3 separate regions of the Homo sapiens genome follow, and all the other regions are linked to region 1. The links are contacts of gene promoters, found by promoter capture Hi-C in blood cells and fetal thymus (Javierre and others, 2016). All regions are on one chromosome and are shown on one strand. Each heading gives the region's core, a stretch centred on a gene start or on the middle of the fragment in contact. The rest is flanking DNA. Distances are from core to core; before and after follow the strand shown.

Region 1 (4,504 bases), core at 941-3,440:
TGTAGAATTATTAATTGGCCTAATTTCAATATTGTTGTGTCTCAGGCAACAGGAAGGCCCGAGGGGGAGAGAAAGAGAGGGAGAGAGAGAGATGGGGGAATGACCAGTTAGTAGAGCAATGGAGCAATCAGAACACACAATTACACTTATTAAATTCTCTGTCTTACACGGGTGCAGTTTGTGGTACCCCAAAACAATTACAACAGTAACATCAAAGATCACTGAGTACAGATCACCAAAACAGATAAAATAATCATGAAAAACTTTGAAATATTGCAAGAATTACCAAAATGTGGCACAGAGACACAAAATGAACACACAGTATTGGAAAAATGGTGCTGATAGACTTGCTTGACACAGGTTTGCCACAAACCTTCAATTAAAAAAAAAAAGCAGTATCTGCAAAGTGCAGTAAAGCAGAGTGCAGTACAACAAGTATATCTGTACCTTATTTTGTTTGTTTAATCCTCCTTAAAAACCCATTGATGTAGGTAAGGTATTTGGCAGATGACAAAACTAAGGTATGTGGTGAATAAGCAGTTACGGGCAAAACATGGCAGAGTTTACTGCCAAAATGAATGATCTCCACTTCTAGCCACTTCTGACTCAAGCTGCCCTTCTAGGTTTAGACCACTCTCCCCAGTGAAAGATCAACAAGACGGGCTCCTGGGAAATGCCAAAGAGGCTTTGTTGCCTTGGGTTCAGGGGTCAAAGGTCTAGGCTGTTCCTTAAGTCTTTTTGATGTCTTTTTTTAACATTTTTGGACCCAAGGGTGGGTTTGGCTTAGCTCCATACTCCACGTTTGCTTGCCATTTGAACTTCAGAGATGAAAGGCAGATCCCATAGCACTTAAGAGATTTTCCAGAACACTAGCTGGTCAGGGCAGAGCTAAACCTAAACGCAGGCCATCTACTTCCTACTGCTGAGCTAGTGCCCTCTGGAAGCATTGGCATATGGTGGTGGCCTCTGCTGCCCTGGCTAACTTGAGTCAGGGTCAGGGTCTTCCTACCTGTAACCCCTTCATCCCCACCCCAGGCACTGAAGCCCCACCATCTGTTTATGAGGCGGGTGGCCACAGAGATAGGCTGATGGTGAGGGGGTTTCACACACTGCGGTAACTAAGGCCTGAGCCCCACCCACTCTCCACCCCTGCGCTTAGTCCCACTTGACAGATAGAAGATCCTATTGTCCCTGAGCACTGTTAAGGGCTGAACTTTGTCCTCCAAAATCCATGTTGATGTCCTAACACCTAGTACCTCAGAACGTGACTGTATTTGGAGATAGGGTCTTTAAAGAGGTATTAAGGGTAAACGCAGTCATTAGGGTGGGCCCTACTCCAATATGACTAGCGTCCTTATAAGAAGAGGAAATGTGGATGTGGACACAGCCACACGCTGAGGGAAGACCCATGTGAAGACACAGAGAGAAGGCAGCCATCTGCAAGCCAAGGAGAGAGGCCTCCGAAGCAACCAAGTCTGCCAACACCTTGATCTTGGACTTCCAGCCTCCAGAATAGTGAGAAAATAAATTTCTGTTGTTTAAGCCCCCTGTACTTTGTCATGGCCGCTTTAGTAGACTCATGCGGGCACTTGCTGTAGACGCTGACCCCCTTGACCCTCCCTCGCTGCCCCTGCATTCTCCTCCACACACCCCTGAGCCCCAGCCCCAGATTCATCAAGTCCTTAGAGTCAGGAGAGTGGGCTCCATAAATCTGCAGCTACATTTTCCCATTTCAGGGCCTTTGAGGAGTGCTGGTTTGTGCTTCAAAGTGGGCCAGGGAAGGATAAACTGCCTTTGGAGCATTTGAGAGATTGAGGAGAGAACAGGAATCACCCAGAAAACAGACTGACGAATATTTTGAGTTAGAATCCTGCCACCCATGACAAGTCAGCTCCCACCCCTCCAGAGTCTCCAGCTAGAGCACTTGCAGTAAGAGTTCAGTGGGCCTTTCCAGGCAGCCAGGCATGTGCTGCCCTCCGGATTCATTAACAGGGTTTCTTGGGGTCAGAGGAGGTGCCAAAGCCCTGAGAGAAGCCAAGCCCCAGAGGACTCCCAAGTTCTCCCCGCAGACTCATATTCCTCTTGTAGGTGGGAAAGGGACGGAGAGGTGCAGGGGGAACGCCCTGTTCCACATGCCGTATTTACTCTGGGCATGGCTAATGACTCCAGGGCCTTATCATTCGGCCCTCAGACTGGGCTGGGCAGGTCTGAGAGTTAGGGAAAGTCCGTTCCCACTGCCCTCGGGGAGAGAAGAAAGGAGGGGGCAAGGGAGAAGCTGCTGGTCGGACTCACAATGAAAACGCTCCTTCTTTTGCTGCTGGTGCTCCTGGAGCTGGGAGAGGCCCAAGGATCCCTTCACAGGTGAGAAGACGTCCCCGCACTGTGTTCAGCTGGGTAGTCCCATGCCCTGCAACTCAGGGCTGCTCTGGGGTAGGAAAGCTGATGGGGAGGTGAAGAGGAGGAGAAGCTGAGGGCTTGCGTCAATGCATGGAAGAGACTCATCCAGTGACCGCCTGTGTATGGCCTTAATCTCCAGTCCTCAACAAGTCATCCTCCTGCCTCCACCTCCACGGAGGTGCCTTCCCAAGTCCCAGGGGTCTTCTTGTGTTGCAAAAGAGCAGGAACCTGCAGTTGTGGTTTGTAGCTCAAAGCGCCCCAGGACTTCCCCAGGGGACTGACCATCACTGTCCCCAAGAGTTTTTCTGTCCCTTTAAATCAGCCCTTCGTGATGTTCATGTAAAACTGTAGACCGCCCCACATCTCCCATTTTCCTAGATCTCAAAGACCTCAGCTCCAGGAGGGGAGCCATTTCCACTCTAAGATTCTAAGACTCTATAGGGCAGAGATGAGGCCGGGCAGGCTGAGTGGCAGAGAGGACGCTGATCCCACCTGTATCCTGCGTGCTGTCTTGCAGATCCCCCCCTCCCACCCCATCTTCTCTAGTTGGCCCCTGAGAAAATGGGACGAGAATGGGGGGAAGAGGGAGGCAGAAGTACATCTCCTGCTTACATGGGGGTTTGTCTCCAGGGTGCCCCTCAGGAGGCATCCGTCCCTCAAGAAGAAGCTGCGGGCACGGAGCCAGCTCTCTGAGTTCTGGAAATCCCATAATTTGGACATGATCCAGTTCACCGAGTCCTGCTCAATGGACCAGAGTGCCAAGGAACCCCTCATCAACTACTTGGATGTGAGGCCTCCTGGGGTCAGGGCTGGGGAGAGGTGGGAGCGGGAGGAAGGCCCAGCATTAGGGCATGGCCAGTGCCACATCAGTAGCACCGAAGGCCATTGTGGATTTCTTCACTTGGATGATGATCCATGGGGACTGATTCCCTGGGTCCCCATGGAGTTGGCTAAGCAGGCCCCCATGTACCCAAATGTCAGAGTTCTCTGCAGAAGGAAAGGGCTGGGAGTGAAAGCATCATCCCACACTGAAGGCCCCTGCTTCTGCTCTCAGCTGGGCAGCTTACTGGCTGTGTACCCTTAGGCAAGTTACTTAACCTCTCCCAGCCCCAGTTCCCTGGTCTGTAAAACAGATGGTTCTTCCTCCACTGCCTCTCCTACAATGTATTTATAAGAATCAGGTTAGTGCAAGTAAAATCAAATGAAGTAGCCAGAGGCTTGGTTTGATTTCCTCCTTCATGGCCATTTCTCTGCTCCTTTTACCTTTTATTTTCCAGCGTTGCCACTTCCTAGGCTCTGTAAACTCCAGTCTGTATTACCCCAGGCTCTGGCCCCTGGGAGCTTTCCCCTGGCTTCCTGGTGAGCACCCTTGTCCCTCCCCACCACCCACACCCTCTTTCCTTCTCACTCTTCCTTGCAGATGGAATACTTCGGCACTATCTCCATTGGCTCCCCACCACAGAACTTCACTGTCATCTTCGACACTGGCTCCTCCAACCTCTGGGTCCCCTCTGTGTACTGCACTAGCCCAGCCTGCAGTAAGTGGGGCCAGGAGCACCAGCAGAGAATGTCTGGGGGCTAGTCCTGGGAGGCCAAGCCTGGTACTCTGGGGAAGGGGGGCTTAGGTTCCAGAAACTGGCCATCCCTGCCACACCAGCTTCCACTCTCCATCTTTGAGTCAGCCGTGGAACTGCTTATAGCAGAGATAGAGCAAAGCCAAGGAAGAACTAAAATGTGGCTGCTGTCCAAGAGAGTAACTTTCATACTGATCAGAATTAATAGAAAGAAAGCCATTGAAAAGAGAAATCTTTGACATAATGACTCACTTCCTTTGGAACACCCAAAGGAATGTAGGGGAAGTTTAATTTAATTGGTTATTTCTGAGCAGGGAGGTGAGTCGGGTTCTAGTGTAGATAGTCTGCTTGTTTCAAGGAGGCTTGGTAGCCTTATCTCCTGGTGCACACAGGTGGGGCTGGTGGGGCACAATGGCATGGGTGGGTCCATTTGTCCAGAGGTAACTCAGAAGTTTCAGTGAGGATTGGAAAAGAAGAGCTACAGAAAGATGTCTTGTTCGATACAGGACAAGTCCCAGAGACAGAATGTCTCT
Region 2 (4,504 bases), core at 677-3,176, 250 kb after region 1:
TTAATCTGTGTTGTTTGTCTTTGTATAGTCTGCAGATGTGTATCCTGACTCCTGCGAGAAGTAGCTCACCGTGACAAAGCTGCCTTTGCATTTATCAATTTGCAAATCAGAGAAGAGGGACATGTTGAGAGCAGGCCCCCCAAAATCTGGCCATAAACTGGCCCCAAAACTGGCCATAAACAAAATCTCTGCAGCACTGTAACATGTTCATAATGGCCCTAACGTCCACGCTGGAAGGTTGTAAGTTTACAGGAACGAGGGCAAGGAACACCTGGCCCGCCCAGGGTGGAAAACCGCTTAAAGGCATTCTTAAGCCACAAACAATAGCATGAGTGATCTGTGCCTTAAGGACATGCTCCTGCTGCAGTTAACTAGCCCAACCTATTCCTTTAATTCGGCCCATCCCTTCGTTTCCCATAAGGGATACTTTTAGTTAATTTAATATCTATAGAAACAATGCTAATGACTGGTTTGCTGTTAATAAATACGTGGGTAAATCTCTGTTCGGGGCTCTCAGCTCTAAAAGCTCTAAAGGAAATCAGACCCCTGATTTCCCACTTCACACCTCTATATTTCTGTGTGTGTGTCTTTAATTCCTCTAGCGCCACTGGGTTAGGGTCTCCCCAACAGAGCTGGTCTTGACAGAATATCACTGATCAGAGATAAAGAACAAATAAAGTGAAGATAGATCTTTGACACCAAGGACAATTCACTAAAGAGTTTATCGAATGATTGACTCAGAGACCAAGAATCAGGCCTTAGGAAATACTTAGCGGGAAATGGGATGGAGAGAAACCTGAAAGAAAAAGATAATCATCAGAGAAGTACGGGGATGACAAAGAAAGAACAGCGTCATAGAAGGCATAAGGGAAACAAATGTCAAGGAGTGGTCAACTATGTCAAAACGAATAAGAACAGAGAAAACTGGATCCTTAAAGATGAGTAGCTTGAACTAACCTCCTGTACCTGGGTAACGAACATTCTGGGCAAAATATATTGTGAACCATGCTGATGTTCTTTCGCCACAAAACATAAGTGATAGCCTCTCTATCAAGAGACCTAGATTTCCTAGTGTCTGGTCCTGGGCTGTTTTCCCATGGCCCCGCTGGTTCTCTTCCTCTATTCCTAGAAAAGTATAGAAAATGGAGCTCTCTTTGCTTGCCATTGAGCTCATGTCCTGCCAACTTCTACCCAAGTGACAGGTAGGTCAGTAAAGTTACAGGCTGAGAAATTAAAATTATTTGCCAAACACTAGTTTTATGATTATCTATTAACAACAGCCACAACAAATCAAGAAGGAGTCCCAGTGTATTTCAATTAGCTTCTAGCTCAAGTGATACATGAGTAGTATGGCTAGAATAGGCATTGTAGAAGTATGAATGGAGAACTGTCTCTTGTTTTCTGTCCATCTTTATTGTTATTGCTGGATATTAAATGCTGTAATTTTTGGCATAGGTTTTTTTCCAAAGACTGGTCTCTTGGGTCAAGTTTTCCTGAACTTGCCTGGTATTGGGCAAGTTCACACAGAAAATATGAGTCATTTCACAAAGTCCTGGGCTTGTCTATCTACTTGAAGGAATAGGAAATGGACTTCACTTGGAGCATGATGGATGAGGCTTGGGCTTTTACTAATGAAATAAGTTTCAATCTTAACTCAGTTAAACCTTTAAAGACAGGAGAAAACTATCTGGGGATGGATTCAGGCCAGTGAGATCACGTTGCACAAATCTCCCCTTAAGGGATCTTTACTGACCTAGAATTGTTTCAAAATAAGATTCCAAACTGTCGAGGGAGTTTGAAGCCTTGAAACTTGGTGTAGGTTTGCTTAAAACAAAATAACGAATATACTACATTTCCCAGGAGGCTTCGCGGTGAGCCTCCGCACTCGGCTGGTTCTCTTTACCGCGAGGAAAGCTGGGAAATGTAGTGCCACAGGCAACCCTGCACGTGACGCTTGCGGAGGAAGGGGAGAGAGAGGCGCGCGGGAGGGCGTCTAGGGAATCGAGGTGCCGGCTGCTCCTTCCTCACAATTTGGTTTGTGCTGCAAGGGGAGGGTCCCCATCATCTGGCCCCAGTGGTGTAAGGAGCTGACTGGGATTCAGTCACTGACTTGGAGCCGCTCGGGGGAAGTCCCGGTGGGTGAGGTTCCGCGGCGCCTGGTCCAGTTTCTCGGCAGTCAGGCCAGGAGGGGGTGGGGAAGGTGCGAACAGCCGGGGGCTCGGAGCTCGCGCCCTGCGCCCCACCCAGGTTGCGGCCGCCCGGGGAGGAAGCGCGTATAGGTTGAGTGCAAAGTTTCCTTTTTTGCTTTCTCGTCAGAGCAGCCCAGACAGGCGGTGGGTGGGAATGCCTCACTTCAGTTTGAAGAGGGTCCGGATCCAAAGGGGTTAAAACGAGCGACCCCCGATCCCCGACCACACTTCCCGCCTCCCTAAAACGCACACCCCGCTAGCCATGGGCAGCCGCGACCACCTGTTCAAAGTGCTGGTGGTGGGGGACGCCGCAGTGGGCAAGACGTCGCTGGTGCAGCGATATTCCCAGGACAGCTTCAGCAAACACTACAAGTCCACGGTGGGAGGTGAGACGTCTCGGGGGTGGGGAGGGGGAGGGGGAGGAGGAGGCCCCGACCGCGGACTCGAGCTGGGGACCCAAGTGGGGTGGGGATTTGCTGTCGGTTGTTGGGTCCTTCTTCGGGTCAGGAAGTACTGTCTGGGAACCTAGATGGTGTAATTGCCGGGTGTTTGGTTTACACGCCTCTCTTGAGTTTCCCGTTAGATTTTCCCAAACTGAGCCCACTGCCAGGAGAAAGGTAAGAGCAAAGGCGTGAAGATGAGAAATAGGGAAGGGAGGATGAGGATGAGCAATTGCTGTTTATTGCAGGCGTACTGTGAACTTAAGTCTCCAGCCTTTCAGCTGTCCGGCAAATCTCTCCAATCAGCAGAAGCAGCTGAGATCCTCTGTGGGGCCTCCTGGTTAGGTGCCGGCTGGGGCTGTAGTCCTGCCCCTCTGTTGAGGGAGGAACCGCAAGGTGTTTAACCTGGCTTCAGTGGGAGAACGCAGGAAGCGGAACTGGTCTGAAGGACTGTAGCTTTGTTGTGGGGCTGTGGGTGGGATGGAAGACACAAAATCCCCGAACGAGCCCCTTGGCTACGCAGTCAGATGCCCATGAGGGCTGATGAGCTGTGTTTTTGTCCGTTGATTGCTTAAATAAAGGTAACCAAGGAATTCTTCCAAGAATGTGAAATATACCACTTCTCTGACCTATCTTCCCACCACTTTTTTCCTCAAACTGGAGAAGGTAGGGAGGAAGGGGACACCGAGTTCATTCATTTCTTTCCCGGGTGTGGCCTTTGGACTCAACTATTTTTTCAGAGGCAGAAATGCCTTATTGTTAATTAGAAGGTATTTAGCTAGGAAGAGCTGGTGATGGGGGAGAGTAACTTAAAATTTTATTTCTCTCTGTTAAAAGAACTTGTTTCAAGGGGGGAAAACTCGTACCAATGGAAAAATTGAAAATGTGTGCTCCTGTTCATATGGAAGTTTAAAAAGAAATTAACAAACATTTACATTGCAATTAAAACATTCTCCTTAAGAACCCCCAGTAGGGCCCAGTACCGTGGTTCATACTTGCAATCCCAGCACTTTAGGAGGCTGAGGCGGGAGGATTGCTTGAGCCCAGGAGTTCGAGACCAGCCATGGGAAACATGGCAAGACCCCCACCTCTACAAAAATTAAAGAAGAAAGTAGCCGTGGTCCCAGCTACTCGGGAAACTGAGACGAGAGGATTGCTTGAACTGGGGAGGTCGAGGCTTCAGTGAGCCCCGTTCGCACCACTCACTGCACTGTAGCCTGGGCAACAGAGTGAGACCCTGTCTCAAAAACAAAGGAACAAAAAATTTAAGTCTGGCAAAATTAAAGGTTCAAAGTTTCAGACACTCTATCCTGACCGCTCTGCCCTCCCACTCCTAAATAATATAAGGGTCCCTATTTCACGGATTTGGGTTAAAAGTGGCCTGCTATTAATAGTTAATTTTTAACAATTGCTGTAGTTTTCCTTTAGCAAAGAATATAATTGGCTAATTTTTTTTTCAGTGTTTAGTCTAAATTTCCCTTAGCTTTGATTCCTGTCACAGATGTGAAAGATAATATTTCCAAACCTCAGAAATTACTCTGTTTCTCTCCTTAGCCAAAAGGCTTTCCCCATGGAATACTTACTCAGCCTTAAGGAGTCTCAGCACCTGCAGACTTGGTGGTAGATTCCAGCAGGACTCTTCAGCAACATCCACACAGTGTCTTCTTCTTGGGACTCCTCTGGGACCTTTTCCATTTATTCCATTCTTGCCCAAGATAATACCTGCAACCTTATGGTGGATGTAGAGTTCCCCAGGGTGTGTTCTTTTCATAATACAATTTGATTAGAAACCAACAGTGAAATTGAATGTGGAAGATACGAAAGCAACCACACTTGTCTCATTTCCCCCTTCTCCCCCATCACCCCTTCCCTGAG
Region 3 (4,504 bases), core at 1,273-3,772, 180 kb after region 1:
CGGTAAGCAACTCCTGGCCCTGTTCCCATGCCAGACTTGAGATGGAAGCCCTGGCACTTTCCCACTTTAAATTTGAGGAGGCTAAGCTTCCTGCCCTAAAGTTGGGCTGGGAAACTATGCTATAAAAAATTGACACTAGAGGAAGAACAGAAGGGGAAGCCCAGGACAGACTAAAGATCCAGGTGATTAATACAACAGGTGTAAATAAAGAGTTATCTCAGCATGGCTCACAGATACCAGGCTGGGGTCATCTCAAATGGAGTGAGAATTCCTTCCAAGGTGGGGGTTGGGGGAGCCACAGGAGAGACAGAGCCACCAGTATCCTGCAAGGGCTGGAGTCAGAAGAGGATCTGTCAGTATATCCATATGGAAAGCAAGGACCTACAGGCAGAAGCTAGGTCAGGCAGCTAGAGTAGTCCAGAGTCCAGACATTTAGAATCACAAATTGGCAATGACTGGTAGAGCTGTCGAAATTCTCCACCTGTCCTGGCAGGAGGACAAAAATAAATAAGAGTTGCTGGCTATGAATGAGGACAGCAGAATCTGTAACAGCAGAGCTTACTCCTGGCTGGGTTTTCTTAGCAAAGTGGGAAGGAGTGCTATATTCATTCAAATTGTCAGGAGACTGACAATTCTGCTGTAGTATGGGATGGGCTATGAGAGTGGACACACAGGATTCTAGAGAACAGCAGAGGGAGGAAAGAAGGACCCTAATGCAGACTTGGTAGACAGGGAAAGCTCCTGGGGATGTTTTGAGATCTTCAGAATGTTGAGTTGGTGGAGGTGGGAGGGAGGTGAATGAGAGACCTCTTGGCCAGGAGCGTTGAAACTTCCTCCTATCTCCCTTCTTCTCCTCTTCAAGCCACTGATCTTTGGCTGGGGTTCGCTAAGTCTTGAGGACTCTGTTTCTCTTCCAGATTGGAGCAGACACCAATGCCTATCATATTTGGAAGCGGGACAGTGGTGACTGTATTGCAGCAACTGGCAAATGAGGTATGGGAAGAAGTATCACATACTCCTAATCAGCTAGGAACAAAAGACGGACAGAAAAGTAACCTTTAGAGTAAGAAAAGGACCCTAGTACTGTCCAGCACTCTGCCTATTCTCACCTATTCCCAGCCAGTGGCTGAGCCAAGACACAGGGATCTGGCTTGTTCTCTACGGCTGTTAGTGTGTTTCTGAGACCCTAAGACCTAATCTACCCTTTGGGAGCTGGTTCCCACTTATCCTTGAGGTTGCTAAGCAATTGTTCTAACCAACCAGATAAGCCCAGCCAGACAGTAATTGCCTCCCTATTCCTGATCCTCTAGCAGGGATTGAGCTAACTGAATTTAGCAGCACTCCTGACTGCTAAGGGCCCCTGAGGCAGCTCTAAAGTAGAGAGAGACTCAGGTCTCAGAGACCCAGGCTAAACTAGAGGTGACCCTGTGGTGCTGACCTTGTTCTTTCCCAGTTTCCCTTCCCTGTCAATATAATCCTGAGCAACCCATGGCTATTTGAACCACTTATAAGCAGGTAAAGTATTATCTTTCCTTTTTTCACATCCCTCACCTCAAACCTACCCACCCCCCAGGCCCCTCTCCTTGGCTTAACTGGGCCTGACTAATCATCCCTCAGCCACCAGATACTGCATCTCTAAGTGTGTATATTTAAGACATCTCTAAGACGTCTCTCTCAGTCTTAAAGATCCCCAAGGTTCAGGAAAGTGGGTAATGTTTCCGCCCTTTCCTTCACCCCATTGGTTCTTTCTAACATCTGACCTTGGTCCTTTTGTTTTAGGTTTATGGAGAGAAATCCCTTAACCAATGCAATAATCAGGACCACCACGGCACTCACCATATTCAAAGCAGGGGTCAAGGTAACATCCCTGGTTCCTCCCCATATAGCTTTTCCCTACCGCCCTCCACTCCTCCCTTCCTTGAATCTATCTACTGGCTCTTCCTTCCTTCTGTGTGTGTCAGCTGGATCCAAGCCTAGCCACGCAAAGACATAGGCCTTTCTGAAATCTTGAAGGGAGTTAGACCATTCTTGTAACTGCCAGTACCACCAGCACAACTTCAGGGGGCACCATTCACCTAGAGTACAATGTGACCTTGAAGCACTCTAGTAATCGGGTATATAAGTGAATGATGCCTCTGAATTAATTCCTGGCATAACTCACTGGACCGTCCAGTGTGTCAGCTGTAGTGTTCATCAGAATAATAGCACTGTGTCCTGACATTTGAATGGTGTTTTCATCTCCCCAGGATACTTTGTTACTCCATCTGAGCCTTCTAAGAGTCCTATGAGTATTGCCCCAATACCCAGTTGAGAAAACAGAGGCACAAAGAGGTTGCAACAGCTAATTTGCAACAGCCCAGCTCTGTCCCTGACCACTTAGTGCTTTTTTGCACCATACGAGTTCAAAGAAAGATATGCACTTGGGGAGTCTCCCGGCCTCCAAGGAACAATCCCTCCATAGCCTAACTCTTTTCTCCAGTTAGTCCTGGATTCCTCCTGGTCAGGCAAAAAAGTCAGATTTTACAACTGGACCTGGGAAACCACCAATCCCTGCTAGAAGGTCGGGAATGGGGAGGCAATTACTGCCTGACTGGCTTATCTGATTGGTTAGAACAATTGCTCAGCAGCCTCAAGGATAAGAGGGAACCAGCTCCCAAAGGTTATGTTAGGTCTTAGGGTCTCAGAAACATACTAACAGCCCTAGAGAACAAGCCAGATCCCTCTGTCTTGGCTCAGTCACTGGCTGGGAATAGGTGAGAACAGGCAGAGCACTGGCCAGCACTAGGGTCCTTTTCTTACTCTGAAGGTTACTTTTCTGTCACTCTTTTGTTCCTGCCTGACCAGGAATATGTGAGGAGTATGTGTTCTTCTCATCCCCCTCAAGGATCAAACCTGATGTGAGCCCCGTGCTATGCCATGATGGGGGTCAACAGAGGCTCTGGCTGCCCCATCGTGAGTAAGCACTAATGTTAACAGCTGCAGAAATGTCCTGGGTGTGCTGGGAAAGAAAGTGCACACAGAAGGCTTCTAATAGCACAGCATGGGGCCAAAACAGAGATATCTGGGTGATCAGAGAAAGCAGCCTTGCTCTGAACATCTCTGTGACCCCCTGCAGCACCAAGAAGCAGGAAGGTCTGGCTTAAAGCAGAGACACCCCTTCAGCTCTGAATATAACATGTCACTTAGTTCAGAGAAGACAAGAGGCAGACTAGAAAAGCTAAGCCTTGGGTCCTTAAGTCAAATCAGCCAACTCTGCCTGAGCTGAGGAAATTAGCATTTCCTGGGCAGGCAGATGTAGAAGATTTGAGGTTGACTCAAGCCAGGGTTTTGTGCTTCTCTCTCTAGTTCAATGTCATCCCCCCAGTGGCCCAGGCCACAGTCAACTTCCGGATTCACCCTGGACAGACAGTCCAAGAGGTATGTACCATATGTTCCAGACAACAACTCATGCAGCATCAGGGAGATGTGGCCCTCAGGGCCCGGGTTTAACTACAGTCCTAGGGCTGGTCCAGTGTCCCATTTATTCAACCAACATTTTTCAAAGACAACCTATGCACCGGATACTTCATTAGGATTGGAGATCCTGGGTTTGGGTAAACATGGGGTCTGAAATGGAAGATGAGTATGAATAAATGATAGCAATACCTATAGTAACAAACATTATATATAACATTATATATATGTAGTAGTGTAGTAGGCTTGCTGTGTATTTGGCACCTTTCTTCCTTTCTTTTTTTTTTTTTTTTTTTTTTTTTTTTGAGTCAGAGTCTTGCTCTGTCGCCCAGGCTGGAGTGCAGTGGCACGATCTTGGCTCACTACAACCTCCGCCTCCCGGGTTCAAGCGATTCTCCTGCCTCAGATTCCCAAGTAGCTGGGACTATAGGCACGTGCCACTATGCCCGGCTAATTTTTAGTATTTTCAGTATTTTGTATTTTTTGTATTTTTTGTACTTTGTATTTTTGTAATTTTTTGTATTTTGTATTTTTAGTAGAGACGGTGTTTCACCGTGTTAGCCAGAGTGGTCTTGATCTCCTGACCTTGTGAGCCACCCGCCTCGGCCTTCCAAAGGGTTGGGATTACAGACATGAGCCACCACACCCAGCCATATTTGGCACCTTTCTAAGGTATACCCATACATTTTAATCCTCACAACTACCCACCCTAAATCTGCATTTAACTGGTGAAAATTGAGGTACAGAGTACCAGAGCAATCAAACAGCATACCCAAGATTATATATCTAGCAGTCTAGTTCCAGAGTTTGTGCTTTTAGCCACAACCCTAAACTATGATTATAAAAATTAGAGGTGAACAAATTGCCATAGGACCACTGCAAAGAAAGAAATTCATGCTACTTCTTAGGGTCAAAAAAGTCTTTTCTGACTACTAAAATGTTGAACTGGGCCTTAGAGGAAAAACAGAACTTGGCTAGAAGTAAGACATTCATTGTGGCTTAACGAATAGAATAAACTGGGGACAAGTAATAGGAGATGAAAACTGATAGG

The links. The method cuts DNA at HindIII sites, captures the fragments that hold promoters and counts their contacts. A CHiCAGO score of 5 or more calls a contact.
Region 2: a contact is called between the fragment with the promoter of RAB29 here and the fragment with the promoter of CTSE in region 1, in 3 of 17 cell types (M2 macrophages, M0 macrophages and M1 macrophages). The highest score is 6.1, in M2 macrophages.
Region 3: a fragment that was not itself captured here is called in contact with the fragment with the promoter of CTSE in region 1 in 1 of 17 cell types (naive CD8 T cells); the score reaches 5.5 in naive CD8 T cells.

What each region holds. Positions count from the first base shown.
Region 1 is chr1:206,021,581-206,026,084 of GRCh38, reverse strand. It overlaps CTSE (cathepsin E), which reads left to right and starts at 2,190. Exons shown (of 9, transcript NM_001910.4): 1 at 2,190-2,361; 2 at 3,028-3,184; 3 at 3,818-3,935. The coding sequence starts at 2,294. The HindIII fragment of the contact is 10,319 bases long and covers 1-4,504 here.
Region 2 is chr1:205,772,904-205,777,407 of GRCh38, reverse strand. RAB29 (RAB29, member RAS oncogene family) reads left to right here and starts at 1,926. Exons shown (of 6, transcript NM_003929.3): 1 at 1,926-2,135; 2 at 2,322-2,575. The coding sequence starts at 2,452. RefSeq lists an enhancer at 3,012-3,061. The HindIII fragment of the contact is 8,570 bases long and covers 1-4,504 here.
Region 3 is chr1:205,839,165-205,843,668 of GRCh38, reverse strand. It overlaps PM20D1 (peptidase M20 domain containing 1), which reads left to right. Exons shown (of 13, transcript NM_152491.5): 6 at 1-2; 7 at 918-993; 8 at 1,454-1,515; 9 at 1,780-1,858; 10 at 3,346-3,417. Among named protein-coding and RNA genes, the nearest start is that of PM20D1, 8.7 kb to the left of the region's middle. The HindIII fragment of the contact is 4,868 bases long and covers 89-4,504 here.